Regions from separate parts of the Homo sapiens genome. Here region 1 is linked to region 2. Evidence: promoter capture Hi-C in 16 types of primary human blood cells and fetal thymus (Javierre and others, 2016). All regions are on one chromosome and are shown on one strand. The core of a region is centred on a gene start or on the middle of the fragment in contact, and the rest is flanking DNA. Distances in the headings are between cores, read along the strand shown. Region 1 overlaps NAALAD2 (N-acetylated alpha-linked acidic dipeptidase 2). Region 2 holds the start of MED17 (mediator complex subunit 17).

The links. The method cuts DNA at HindIII sites, captures the fragments that hold promoters and counts their contacts. A CHiCAGO score of 5 or more calls a contact.
Region 1: a contact is called between a fragment that was not itself captured here and the fragment with the promoter of MED17 in region 2, in 1 of 17 cell types (total CD4 T cells). The highest score is 6.3, in total CD4 T cells.

What each region holds. Positions count from the first base shown.
Region 1 is chr11:90,188,870-90,195,309 of GRCh38, forward strand. NAALAD2 (N-acetylated alpha-linked acidic dipeptidase 2) reads left to right here. Exons shown (of 19, transcript NM_005467.4): 19 at 2,689-4,025. The coding sequence ends at 2,878. Among named protein-coding and RNA genes, the nearest start is that of CHORDC1, 31 kb to the right of the region's middle. The HindIII fragment of the contact is 1,446 bases long and covers 528-1,973 here.
Region 2 is chr11:93,782,940-93,790,019 of GRCh38, forward strand. It overlaps MED17 (mediator complex subunit 17), which reads left to right and starts at 1,343. Exons shown (of 12, transcript NM_004268.5): 1 at 1,343-1,824; 2 at 5,062-5,228. The coding sequence starts at 1,575. RefSeq lists enhancers at 1,164-1,458, 1,400-1,619, 3,628-4,127 and silencers at 1,750-1,879, 1,881-2,075. The HindIII fragment of the contact is 2,360 bases long and covers 1-2,344 here.

The DNA.
Region 1 (6,440 bases), core at 1-2,500, 3.6 Mb before region 2:
AATTGCTCTGTGTGGTAAGCATAATAATGGCCTCCCAAAGATCTCTATTTTCTAACCCCAGAACCTTTGAATATGTTAGGTTACATGACAAAGAGGAATTAAGGTGGCAGATGGATGAGTCACACTAATCAGCTGAGTTAAAATAGGGACAGTATTCTGAATTATACTGGTGGTCCCAATGATGCAGTCACAAGGGTCCTTAAAAGTCTTCCTGTAAGAGGCAGGCAGGAGAGAAAGTTAGGGTGATGCCATTGCGAAAAGACTCATCTAAAATGCAGTTGCGGATTTTGATGGTGGAGGAATGTGGTAGGCCTCTAGAAGCTAGAAAAGCAAGGAAAAGGATTCTCCTCTAGTGCCTCCAGGAAGGAATGTGACCCTGATCATACCTTGATTTTAGCTTGGTGAGACTTATGTCAGACCAACTGTAAGATAATAAATTTTTTTAAGCCACTAAGTTGGTGGTAATTTGCACAGCAGCAATATAAAATGAACACACTCTGTAATGGAATCTAAAAAGGATTAAATAAAGCTTCCTTTTTTGCAAACATCAAGTGAAATACTGTAAAAGTCTTTAAAAGCTGCAAAGCATTTAATTATGAAATTCTAGAAACATTTGTGGCCGGGCATGGTGGCTCACGCCTGTAATCCCAGCACTTTGGGAGGTTAAGGCGGGTGGATTACCTGAGGTCAGGAGTTTAAGACCAGCCTGGCCAACATGGTGAAACCCCATCTCTACTAAAAATACAAAAATTAGCCAGGCGTGGTGGTAGGCACCTGTAATTCCAGCTACTCGGGAGGCTGAGGCAGGAGAATTGCTTGAGCCCAGGAGGTGGAGGTTGCAGTGAGCCGAGATCATGCCACTGCACTCCAGCCTGGGCCGACAGAACGAGACTCTATCTCAAAAAAAAAAAAGAAATTTTGCATTATCACAACTCATCAGTGAATACTTACTATGTACTGAGGGGAAGGTTGAGGAAAAAAGACTATGAAGTGTTGACCATATTCTCTAGTCTGCTCAGTAGTTCTTGATGCCTCTTAAAAATTCAGAAATGTCCATTGTGGAGGGTAATTAAATCATCATATACTTGAAACCTTGAGAACTAGACCAGAGTTTGAATTCTTATGGGACTAGAATAGCTATTTGAGTCCACCATTTCATAAAAGGGTATTTGAGTTGCTTAAGCATTACCAATTGTCTGATCATTTCTTTTAGCTTGCTGCCTGCTTCTTATCTGAGAAAATTAGGGAAAGGATTTAGTTTCAGAATAGCTAATATTTACTGAACACCTATTAAATGTCAAGCTATGCTTTTCATCCAACATTTGATTCTCACAATTCTTTTAGAACAGTACTTTTATCACCATCATTTTTAAGATAACAGGCACAGGGAGGTTAAATAACCAGTGCAAGGCCACAAGGCTGATAGTTGATAGTATTCTGTTGATAGTAAATATGCTAGTATTCTGATTTTTAAAAAACAGGCAGTCTCAGTCTACAACCTGCTCAGTCACTACTCTAAGCAGAGTCTACATTATTTCAATTATTTTACAAATCTGGGACAAATTTAGACAACTTAGGCAATTTGCCAAAGGTCACTGAGATATTAAATGCCATATCAATGATTCAAAGGTTATTCGCTTCCTATATCAAATTTTTTTTGCTATATTCTTCCTTTACAATTCTCCAGAAGAGGGTAAGTATACTAAGGAATATCTATGACTTGCATCTCTAATTTCTTGACTCATATACAGGTCAGGATACCAATGCTTATAAACAACTTAGCACATAAACTGATTTTAATTTTAAAAAAATCCATCTGAGGCCATATTAAGATTTAAAAGCCAAGATAATAAATCCTGATGTACTTTGGTAAATCTGAATGATGAGTGTTATAGATTTGTCATTAATCATTAATCATTAATACTGACTTATATGGAGCTCTATATTGCTTCATACAGATTTACTCTAGAATAAGCTTTGGGGTTTGACTGTTGGACCTAATTCCTGATGTATTAATAAAATACATCCCTTTCTGGAAAGCAAAATTCTACGTCATTATTGCGGAAAGTAGCTTGATCCCTTGAGCTACTTATGTTGAAGTAGAAAAGCAACTATAAAACTTTCTTTTTAGATCAAAAGTTGAGTGTCTTTGCGGGCAACCCACATATAACTGTCTTACCTTTGTGGAATGGACGTCATTATCCTTGCCATTTGTAACACTTTGAAATACAGGCTTCTTTAATTACTTGTTTTTTAATGTCTAAAAAGTATTGGGAACAACTGTCATTCTTGTTTAATCTATTTTTAAAAGGCAACACAAAAATAAATTATCTTTCTCAATCTCCTCTTACTAAAAACATCCATAAACTTACATGTTATCACCATATTTGTGGATGCTTACGGGACGCTGAGCAATTATTCTGCACAACTTAAAAGAACCTGCTTTCTTCCATCTGCTTTGGGTTCGCAACATGGTATATGATTCCTGAGATATGTCTTAGCGAATGCATATTGTTAGCTTCTTTCCTGGCTTGAAATTATGATTCGCATAAGTATCTCAGATCAACTGTCTTCTTATTATAGGAACAAAAGTGAGTATCACAAGGAAACATCATGTGGTCTAAACAAAAAGCATGCAAAATGCATGTATACACTTTAGTTCAATTTGCCTTGTTTTCTTCCTTTTAGGCACATCATATTTGCTCCAAGTAGCCACAACAAATATGCTGGAGAATCATTTCCTGGAATCTATGATGCTATCTTTGATATTGAAAATAAAGCCAACTCTCGTTTGGCCTGGAAAGAAGTAAAGAAACATATTTCTATTGCAGCTTTTACAATTCAAGCAGCAGCAGGAACTCTGAAAGAAGTATTATAGAAGGTCTCAAGTGGCTAGCCATTAAAGGTGTTGCTAAAAGTCTGAGGATAAAATTCACCTTTCTGATAACTTATGAAGCCAGGGTGTTCTAAACTCTTTTCATGTCATGTTTTGATTATAGGCTTTGGTCTTTTCATCTGCAAAGCCTTTTTTTTTTGCTCTTTAAAAGTTAATAATTATATTAGCAAAGTGTTAATCTAATGAAGTAAAAAACTCCTGTGTGGCAGAAAGTAAAAGAAAATTCCCTAAATTATAGCAAGGAACATGAATTCTCAGACATTGTGAGTGTGGGAATGTAAAATGGTAAAATCACTTTTGAAAACAGTTTGGCAGTTTCCTATAAAGTTAAACATACACTTTTACTTTAGGACTCCAGAATTCCACTTCTAGTTATTTATTCAAGAGAAGGAAAAACAATGATCACAGCAATACTTGTATGCATGTTCATTGCAACTTAAAAGCGTAAAAACCCCAAATGTCCATCCACAGACGAATGTATAAACTGTGGTATCCATTACACAATAGACTACTTACTACTCAGCAATAAAAATGAAGTAACTTTCAATAAATGCAATATTATTGGCAGACATTGTTGAAGGAAAAAAGCCAGACAAACAACTACATAAAATATGTTTCTATTTAGATGAAGTGGCAAACTAATCTGTAGTGTTAAAAATTAGATTAGTGATTGCCTGGGCCAAGTGGCAGGTTGGGGAGGATGGCTGCAAAGAAGTATGAGGAAACTTTCTCCAATAGATGAGAATTTTCCGTATCTTGATCTGAGTGGCAAATTGTAAACTTAAAATATATATAAAATTTATTGTATGAAAATTAAGCCTCAATAAACGTGATTATAAAAAACAAGTCTGCAAGGAAACCAGAATCATATACCTTCTCTTGTGAAATCACCATGAAGTGTGAATGGTCAGGAAAAAGCCAGTAATATTCATACATTTAATAATTTCAGCTCTACTGAATAAACATATAAGTCTGATGGGTGATGAAAATAGCTACTACAATCTTCATATTCTAACTCCTATAAAGACTGTATATCAGAATCTGCAAACTTTTATGCAGATCCCAGTGACTCAATTACATGTTCAACTATGATTAAAGCTTCAATAAACTTGGTTGTTCATCTACTTCACCAAAACGAGTTAAGAATTAAAAATTAGAAGAGCCTTCATAGGCAAGTACAATAACTAAAATAAGAAATGACAGCTCAAAGCTTAACTACAAGGAAAAACTACCCATTACCCTTGCTCCCAGGCCAACAATACAGTTTAACTTAAAACAGTGGGGGCATTTAGTTTAGGGGCATTTTCTATACATCTCAGTATTACTAGAGGGTATTTCACTGATCCCCCACAATAAAATAAGTTGCAAGTATAGCAATGACTCTGTCATCAAGGTAACTTTTAAATATGTTCCATTCCTTCTGCTTAAAGAGGCAATAAGGTGTGCTATTTATGAAGTATAAATATACACAATTAAGACTTTTGTAAAAGGGAGTTAACTTTACTACCACGCTACACTACCAAAGTATAACACTTTAACTTTTGCCTTGAAGCACTGTGTTGTAGAAAATATACTGCATTAAGACCCATGAATCATACTATCTACTACCCAACTGAGTAGATCACTACGTATCTCTGGGCATCAGTTCCCTCCAACTCTATCATTTCTAAAGGAGACAAAGCACAAAGGTTTAGAAATGTCTTGGGTGTTCTTCCTACTGGTAGTTTTCCTGAAGACAAATGCGAGCTGCCAGAACAGCATATTTGGTCTGAAATATGAGTTTGGAGTAAAATAGTAATTATTGCAATTTAATTTTTCCTTTAATTCTTGTTTTTTTTAATCATTTTTAATCAATATCTGATTGTTAGCAACAGAACAAGTGATTGTGTGGCATGCACTATAATCAATTCAGGATATTTAATATAGAATATGTGTTATCACATGTTAAATAGGGCATATGTTTGAACTTTTTAAAAAAACTTTTCCCCTAAGCATTTGAGATCAGCTGAATTAAGCTGCTAATCATTATTCCCCTTTGATCTCATTCCTTGGTCCAAGTCCTGAGAGAGATACTGTTCCTCTTAAGGATACTTACGAAATAATGACATGGAAATATTTTGCTTGTCACAGTATATTGCCTGTTTTAAGACCTACTTTTAAAATCAAATAAGCCATAAATTCTTATTGTAATGCCATACTTTTAATCATTTAAACTAAATGTTTAATCAGAAGTTGTCTAATATAAAAACTAGTAAAAAAGCACGTGAAATGTATATACTTTAACCAAGAAATTCTAAAAATTGGTTTCTATAGAGAAAACTGGACAGAATGACAATGTATGTGACACAAAGGTGTTTACCACAGCATTTTTTATCACAGTAAAAAATAGTAAAAAAAAAAAATCACAAGCTAAATATCAATGGAGAATTGATTATAGTATAATATAAAAATGATCATACAATGATCATATATACATTTTTCACTTATATAGTAAGTTGTCCATGACTTACTGGTTAAAAAAAGTGATAAAACTAAATATATGAATATCAAACAAAATACAAATAGTGCTTGCATTTCGGTGGTAGACTTTTATGTGACTTGTACTCTGTACTGAATTGCTAAAATTTTTTACATCATATTCCCTTTTATAAGGGTTAAAATAATATAATAACTACTGTTTTCATTTTGAACAGACAAAAGTACAGAGTTCTGGGATACAATACAGTTCACAAATAGTAATCCTATTTTGTACCCTTGAAATTTATTAGTTTATTCTGAGGATACAAATAACATTTATATATGCACACATGAGCCATCTTAATATTTCCATTTAGTTCAGAATTTCAAAAATATCAATCGATCCTTGAACTTTCAAGTATAGAAATGAGTTTAGGGTAAAATAGTAACCTTTGAAATAATTACAGTACTGTATTAGATTTGTCTTTTTCTTTAATTGCTTAACTTCATGAACTCATTTGTTTTTTTCTTTTTAATTTTTATTCATCTACTTTTTCCAATCCCCAATGTGATTAAATTCAGAAGAACAGTATCTTTCAAGTAAATGATGCAAAACTTCCTTTCACATCATCTCACGTCCTTTCCCCCTTTGTATTAGTAGATAATTATACTATCTACAGCCAGAACGATCTTCCTAGACGTGATCATGCTATGTGCTATGAAAAAAACCTTCAATGGGGACCTCCACTACCGAAATGATGTGGTAGTACTGGCAGTCGCTCCCAGGTGCAGTAACTAGGAAAAAATGGATCAAATGCAAAATACATTACAGATACGAAAGAGCTGTGGAAGCGCTTAAGACTAGATGTACTAAAAGTCTTTGTCTTTTCTACATAGCTGAGACTACCAACTGTTTTCTTTCCTGGCATCATTTGCCAATTCTAGGCATGGATTAAAGATCAGGCTTTGTGTGGACTAAAGCACTTTACTGGGGAAAATCAGCAGGACTTTTACTGACTGCATGATCTATCATGATGTACTAGAATCTAGAGGAGCCCTAAACCCAATACTGAGTGAGACTAGAACT
Region 2 (7,080 bases), core at 93-2,592:
GGAATCATAATCATTTGTTGTTGTCTTGTTTTTGTCTGCACTATTAGACTGCCACTGCGCCTGGCTATTAATCAGATTTTAAAATAAAGTTAAAAAAAATTTTTAAACAAATTTACACGAAAAGCAAGTACAGTGGTTCTCGAACATGATTGGGCGACAGACTGTACAGCTTGCCAGAAATAGGTTTCTCTCATGAAAATTCAACCCCCTCCACACACGGCCATCTACTTTCTTCTTCAGCAGGGACTGACACCAGGGCAACCGTATTTTCCTAAATACCTTAGGAAAGTAGTTCAAAACCTAGATATATCTTGGTCAGAACAAAACCTGGCAAACACTCATGATAAACGGTATATATAATTCCTTAAACGAAATATAGAGGTTTGTAATATAAAATAATCCATCTTTGTCTGTGGAATTCCTACTAATGAAATACGTTCTTGGAGACCCAAAGACTGAAGTTATACCACTTCTTCTTAATCTTTTAAATATTATTTGCAGGCCAGGCATGGTGACACGCTCCTATAGTCCCAGCTCCTCAGGAGGCTAAGGCAGGAGCATCGTTGGAGCCCAGGAGCTCCAGGCTGTAGCGTGCTGACAGCACTTGTGAATAACCTCTGCACTCAGCCTGGGCAACATAGTGGGACCCCATCACTAATAAAAAAGCGAGATCAACATTATTTATTCTGTTACTCGGGCATAAAATAAATATTAAGCACTTACTACATGCCAGAGTCTATTATGTCTGCTGCAGATATTGGCTGTCATAGAGTTATAACTAACAGGAAACCAAATAATTACGTAGTATAATTTTAAGTGGTGATAAGCACGATTGTTTCCCCCAAGCCATGCCCTTAATTTCTAACTCTTCAGATAGTGTTTCTTTAAAAAATTTCTTGCTAATTTAAAATAACTTTTGTTTTGAGGCAGGATCCCACTCTGTTGCTTAGGCTGGAATGCAGCGGTGAGATCTCGGCTCACTGCAGCCTCCATCTCCAGGGCTCAAGCCATTCTCCCGCCTCAGCCACCCGCGTAGCTGGACCACAGGCGCGCGCCACCAGATCTCAGTTCTCTCAACAGGACTCTCATTGCTAAGATCCAAGGATCCATTAATTTCCTTTTCCTTAACTCTTCTAGCCTCTGCAGCTTTCTTTCCTCATCCACTTTTTAAACAAACGCAGGCTTAAAAAGCAAGGAATATACCCGCCACACTCTCGGCTCCCAAACCGCTCTTTCCCTCCCTCTGCCGGCCACGCCTCTTATAGGCCCGGAAGTTTACCCCACCCTGCACCGTGATTCACCGGAAGCGCTCTAGGGAACCCTGGAGCTTCCGCGCCTGCCCAGTTTTGCTCCGAAAGACTTACCGAGGAGGGAGCTTGCGGTGCGTTCTGGGAAAGTTGCTGGGCCAGCTCCTTTGTTTCCAGTCTGAGCGTTGCGTTCGGTTTCCCGAGGGTCTTCTGAGGCACCGCGGCTGCGGGCTTCTGAGTTCCCGGCTCTCCGCAGGGAAGCCTCCTCTTCGTACCTCGTTTTTTGGCTCGTGGGGGGTCCTCCCACCGCTGGCCGACGCAGCCAGCATGTCCGGGGTGCGCGCAGTGCGGATCAGCATCGAATCGGCCTGCGAGAAGCAGGTCCATGAGGTGGGCCTGGATGGCACCGAGACGTACCTGCCCCCGCTGTCCATGTCGCAGAATCTGGCGCGTCTGGCCCAGCGGATAGACTTCAGCCAGGGTTCGGGCTCCGAGGAGGAGGAGGCGGCGGGGACCGAGGGCGACGCGCAGGAGTGGCCGGGCGCCGGGTCCAGCGCAGACCAGGACGACGAGGAAGGTAAGGCCTGCATCCGCTGCCCGAGTCCCCCGGTCTGGGTCCCAGCACCCGCGCGGGCCTCCGCCTCTCCCGCGATGGGGGTGATCTTGTGCGTGCGAGAACTTTTGAGTGTCCCTCTAGCGGAAGCGTAAGGATACTTGGTCGTCATCTTTTTGTTGCTGCCGGACAAGGTAGGACACGACTTTACGTAATACTCCTGCGGGTCTCCTTGAATGGCAGCGTTTAGAGACACTGTCAAACCGTGAAATGTTTAAATGAATGCTTCTCTGTAGAGGGCCTTTAATGTAGCACACTTAGTGGCTAAAAGAGCCCTAGATCGGGGCTCTGCCCCTTGCCGGCTGTGTGACCTTGGGCGAGTTACTTTGCATCCTTGTGCGGTGTGAATGATGATAGTAGCACCTGCAGAAAAGAGGTCTGTTTTGACTGAAATGTGTGACGAGGTCCAAGAGGTAGGCGGGTCCAGATCATGTAGAACCCAGTAGGCCGGGATAAGCGTTTGACTAGTGTTAAGACCACTGAAAGCTTTTGCAGGATAAGTAGAGATGGTTTTGTTAAAGTTTACTCTAGATGCTTTCTAATAAATGAATTATAGGGAAAGCAAAACTGGAAGGGAGGAGACTAGGAGGGAAGTGAAGAAATAATGAGTGGGTTTCAGATTCTCATTATTGTCAAGGATTTTTGAAAAAAAAATCAAAATTCTTAATTTAGTTATGCAGCACACCCAGTGTAAATGGGAATTTAAAGATGTCATTTCAGGGCAGTGCTGTTAGGATTATTAGGGGTCTATTTGCAAAAAAAGGTAAATACTACTTTATACCTCACACAAAAATTATTTCCACAGTAATTTTTGAGGATTGAAGTGCCAAATGAAGAAAGTAAAACAAAGTGTTAGAAGAAATAATGAAAGAATAGTTGTATTATTCTGGGAGTCGGATAGATCTTCTTAATTTCGGAAATAACAGGACAGGCATGGTGGCTCACACCTGTAGTTCCAACATTTTTGGAGGCCAAGGTGGAAGGATCACTTGAGCCCAGACTTCAAGACCAGCCTGAGCAACATAGGGAGCTCCTGCCTCTACAAATTAAAAAAATTAGCTGGGCGTGGTGGTGCACGTCTGTGGTCCCAGCTACTGGGGAGGCTGAGGGAGGAGGATGGATTCAGCCAGTGAGATCAAGGCTGCAGTGAGCTATGATTGTGCCACCGCACTCCAGCCTGGGTAACAGAACAAGACTCTAACATCCACACACACAACCACACACCTACCTACCTTACAAAGTATAGATATATTACTTACATAAAATTTAAAAATAATGGGAAAAGATGCCATAAGCAAAGTAAAAAGATAAATGACAGACTGGGAGAAGTTCTACACATATAACACAAATTTAGTTGATATCTTCTCTATTCAAAAAGTCCCTTCAGACTGAAAAGAAAATAATGACACTTTGGAAAAATAGGCCAAAGGTATCTGAAGGCTCATAGAGGAGAGACTTCAGATACCAATAAACAGAACATAGACTCAATCTCATTACTAGGGACTGGGAAATTAAAACATGATTAAGATACTCTTTCCATGCACAAAATTGACAGAAATTGAAAAGATTGTTAATATTCAGGGTTAGGAATGTGAACTGGTAGTGATTCTGAAAGACAATTTGGCAGTTTAATATGTGCCAACATTTAATTTTAACTTTTTTTGGTTTGTTTTGTTTTTTTTTTTGAGATGGAGTCTTGCTCTGTCGGCCAGGCTGGAGTGCAGTGGTGCAATCTCGGCTCACTGCAACCCCTGCCTCCTGGATTCAAAACGATTCTCCCACTTCAGCTTCCCTAGTATGTGGGACTGTAGGCGTGCGGCACCATGCCTGGCTAATTTTTGTATTTTTAGTAGAGATAGAGTTTCACCATGTTGGCCAGGCTGGTCTTAAATACCTGATGTCAGGTGATCCACCCTGCCTCGGCCTCCCAAAGTGCTGGGATTACAGGCCTGAGCCACTGCACCCAGCCGAAACTTTTAAATGTATATCTCCTTTGATTCACTATTACCACGACTAAAAATTTAACCTGCAGAAAAAGTTGCACATATACAGGGTATATATTCAAGATGTTTACCACTGCTAGCATTGTTGGAAGCAGTTTACTTGTTGGAAGCAATCTACATGTCCGTTAAATACAAGTGGTTAAACATACCGTACATCCATGTTCCAGAATATCATACAGTGTTAGAAGAATTAAGTAGACTCATAAGTACTAACATGGAAGTGTCTCTAGGAAATATTAAGTGGGGGCGGGGGAAAGGCAAGTAATAGAAAATTGGAAATAGATGTATGTAAGTGCATAGAAAAACCTTTGAAAGGGTACACTCACTGGGGCCGGGCGCAGTGGCTCACGTCTGTAATCCCAGCACTTTCGGAGGCCGGGGCAGGCAGATCACGAGGTCAGGAGATCAAGACCATCCTGACTAACATGGTGAAACCCCGTCTCTACTAAAAATACAAAAAATTAGCTGGGCGTGGTGGTGGGTGCTTGTAGTCCCAGCTACTGGGGAGGCTGAGGCAGGAGAATGGCATGAATCCGGGAGGTGGAGCTTGCAGTGAGCTGAGATCGCGCTACTGCACTCCAGCCTGGGTGACAGAGCAAGACTTTGTCTCAAAAAGAAAAAAAAAAGAAAAGAAAGGCTACGCTCCATCTGTTAATAGTGGTTACCTCTCAGGAGGGGAGAGAATCGGGTGGGGAATGAAGGAAAACTTTCACTTTTTACCCTCTAATTCTTTATTGTGTGAACTCTATATAGTGAATGTTCATGTATTTAATCACAATACTTTTTTTAATGGTTAAAAGGAAGATATGCTAATAGTGGCTGGCTTACAGGTCATTTTCATTTTGTACTTTTCTGTATTTTGGAAATTTTGTACAATTGTAAATTCAAGTTCTAAACACTGTAAGAAGATTATTAAAAAGGTTTACATAAATTTGAAAAGAGATTTGAGTCTATAATGTTGTAATGATAAATTTAACCTGTGGAAATAGATGTCATATTCATTTTGCGATTGTAGGAATGCTAATGTGAATGTTAACAAAGTTTTAAGAAACGGTAGAGGAGATGGCATAAATAAGAGAACAATTTGAAATTTAATTAATTATTTCTCCTTTTAGTACTTTTTAAACCTAAGTGAGCTGTCTGCCATTCAATGTAACGAATACTTCTGTATTTCTTTTTTTTCTCTCTCTCTTTTTAGGAGTGGTAAAATTTCAGCCTTCCCTTTGGCCTTGGGACTCAGTGAGGAACAATTTGAGAAGTGCCCTGACAGAGATGTGTGTTCTCTATGATGTTCTCAGTATTGTTAGGGATAAAAAATTTATGACTCTTGATCCTGTCTCTCAGGATGCACTTCCTCCAAAACAGGTATTTGTGGACTTTAATTGAATAATAAAATTTTATTTATTAAATCCCAGGACCCTTTTTTGGCTTTGTGCCTGTTGTTCCATTTTCCTTTCTTGCAAAATTAAGTCCAGATGAAGATTTAAAGACTAACTGGTCTAAAACAAAGCCATACAACTGCATTTCCTTTATTTTTTTATTATATACCTATGATCCTTGGAAGAGTTAAGTTTCATTAAGAATGTAATACCTTTAAGGCCAGGCGTGGTGGCTCACGCCTGTAATCCCAGCACTTTGGGAGGCCAAGGCGGGCAGATCACGAGGTCAGGAGATCGAGACCATCCTGGCTAATGCTGTGAAACCTTGTCTCTATTAAAAATAACAAAAATAAGCCAGGCGTGGTGGTGGGCACCTGTAGTCCCAGCTACTCAGAAGGCTGAGGCAGGAGAATTGCTTGAGCCTGGGAGGCGGGGGTTGCAGTGAGCTGAGATCGCGCCACTGCACTCCAGCCTGGGCGACAGAGCGAGATTCCATCCCAAAAAAAAAAAAAAAAAGAATGTAATACTTTAAAGGTTACCAAATCTTAACAAATTCTTATAGCCTGGGTCCTTGGTCTGTGATATATTACACAAAAATGTGATGATATAATGGCTTTGGAATCAGGTAGACCTGGATTCGAATCCTGCCTCTGCCTTCATTAACTGTGTGACCTTAAATTAAGCAAGTTATTTTCTCTTAAGTCCCTGTTTTTCCATCTAATCCTTCCTTCCCTTTTTTTTTAAGGGATGGATTAGAAAAGTTAGGCGAAATTATGGAGCATATTGAGAGCTGGGTAGAATTGCTGCTATTTCATAAACAGTGTATTCAATTTTTGAACATTTGAAGATGAAAGAGAAGTAGCAGGAAGATGAGTTGGTGAATAGTCTGAAATCATTGAGGCTACTTGGGTCCTTAAGGAAAACAAGTGTCAAGACCATAACCAAATTAGTCATGGAGAAGAAGTAATGACTGTTAGAACCCATTTGTAAATAAAATTAATTGAATAGAATTACTCACATAGTAATAGTTTCAGAATCTAGAAACATTGTGCTGGGGGACTAATAGAGTTCCCTAAATCTGCATTCTTCATTTTATAGAGAGAAAACTAAAGCTTAAAGAGATTTGTAATATGTTCAAGTTGCTGTCAAGCCAGTAGTTAGGGAGCCAAGACTAGAACTCCAGCACCTAACTCATAGCCCCACTGCCTTTTCTACTATTCTGTGCTTTTCCCAGAAGGGAGTCTCCAGGAATTTCTTAATATCTCCAGGAACTCTTTTATTTACGTTCCCTAATACAATCAAAAGATTATTTTGATATGTTTATGAAGCTTTTTATGTGATTTTTGACTCTCATACAGCCAGAAAACTGTATTAAACTGGTTAGTAAAATACACAAATTATGGTGATTGTGGATATTTATATATGCATATGTGATACATAGATAGTGACTTCTGATCAGTTTTCCAAAAAATTAGGATTCAGTGAAGTACATTTAATATTAACAATGGCAGGGCACGGTGGCTTATGCCTGTAATTCCAACACTTTGGGGAACCAAAGCAGGAAGCCAGGAGTTTGAGACTTTCCCAGGCAACATAGCAAGACCCTGTCTCTACCAAAAAAAAAAAAAAAAGCCAGGCTTGGTGTTGCACATCTGGAGTCCCAGCTTCTCAAGAAGCTGAAGCAGGAGGATCACTTGAGCCAGTAGGTCAAGGCTATGGTGAGCCAAGATGGTGGTACTGCATTCTAGACTGGGTGACAGAACAAGACTCCATCTCAAAAGAAAAAAAGTTAATGCTGTGTGATTTTAGTCCTAATTCCAAAAGCACTTTAATAGCTT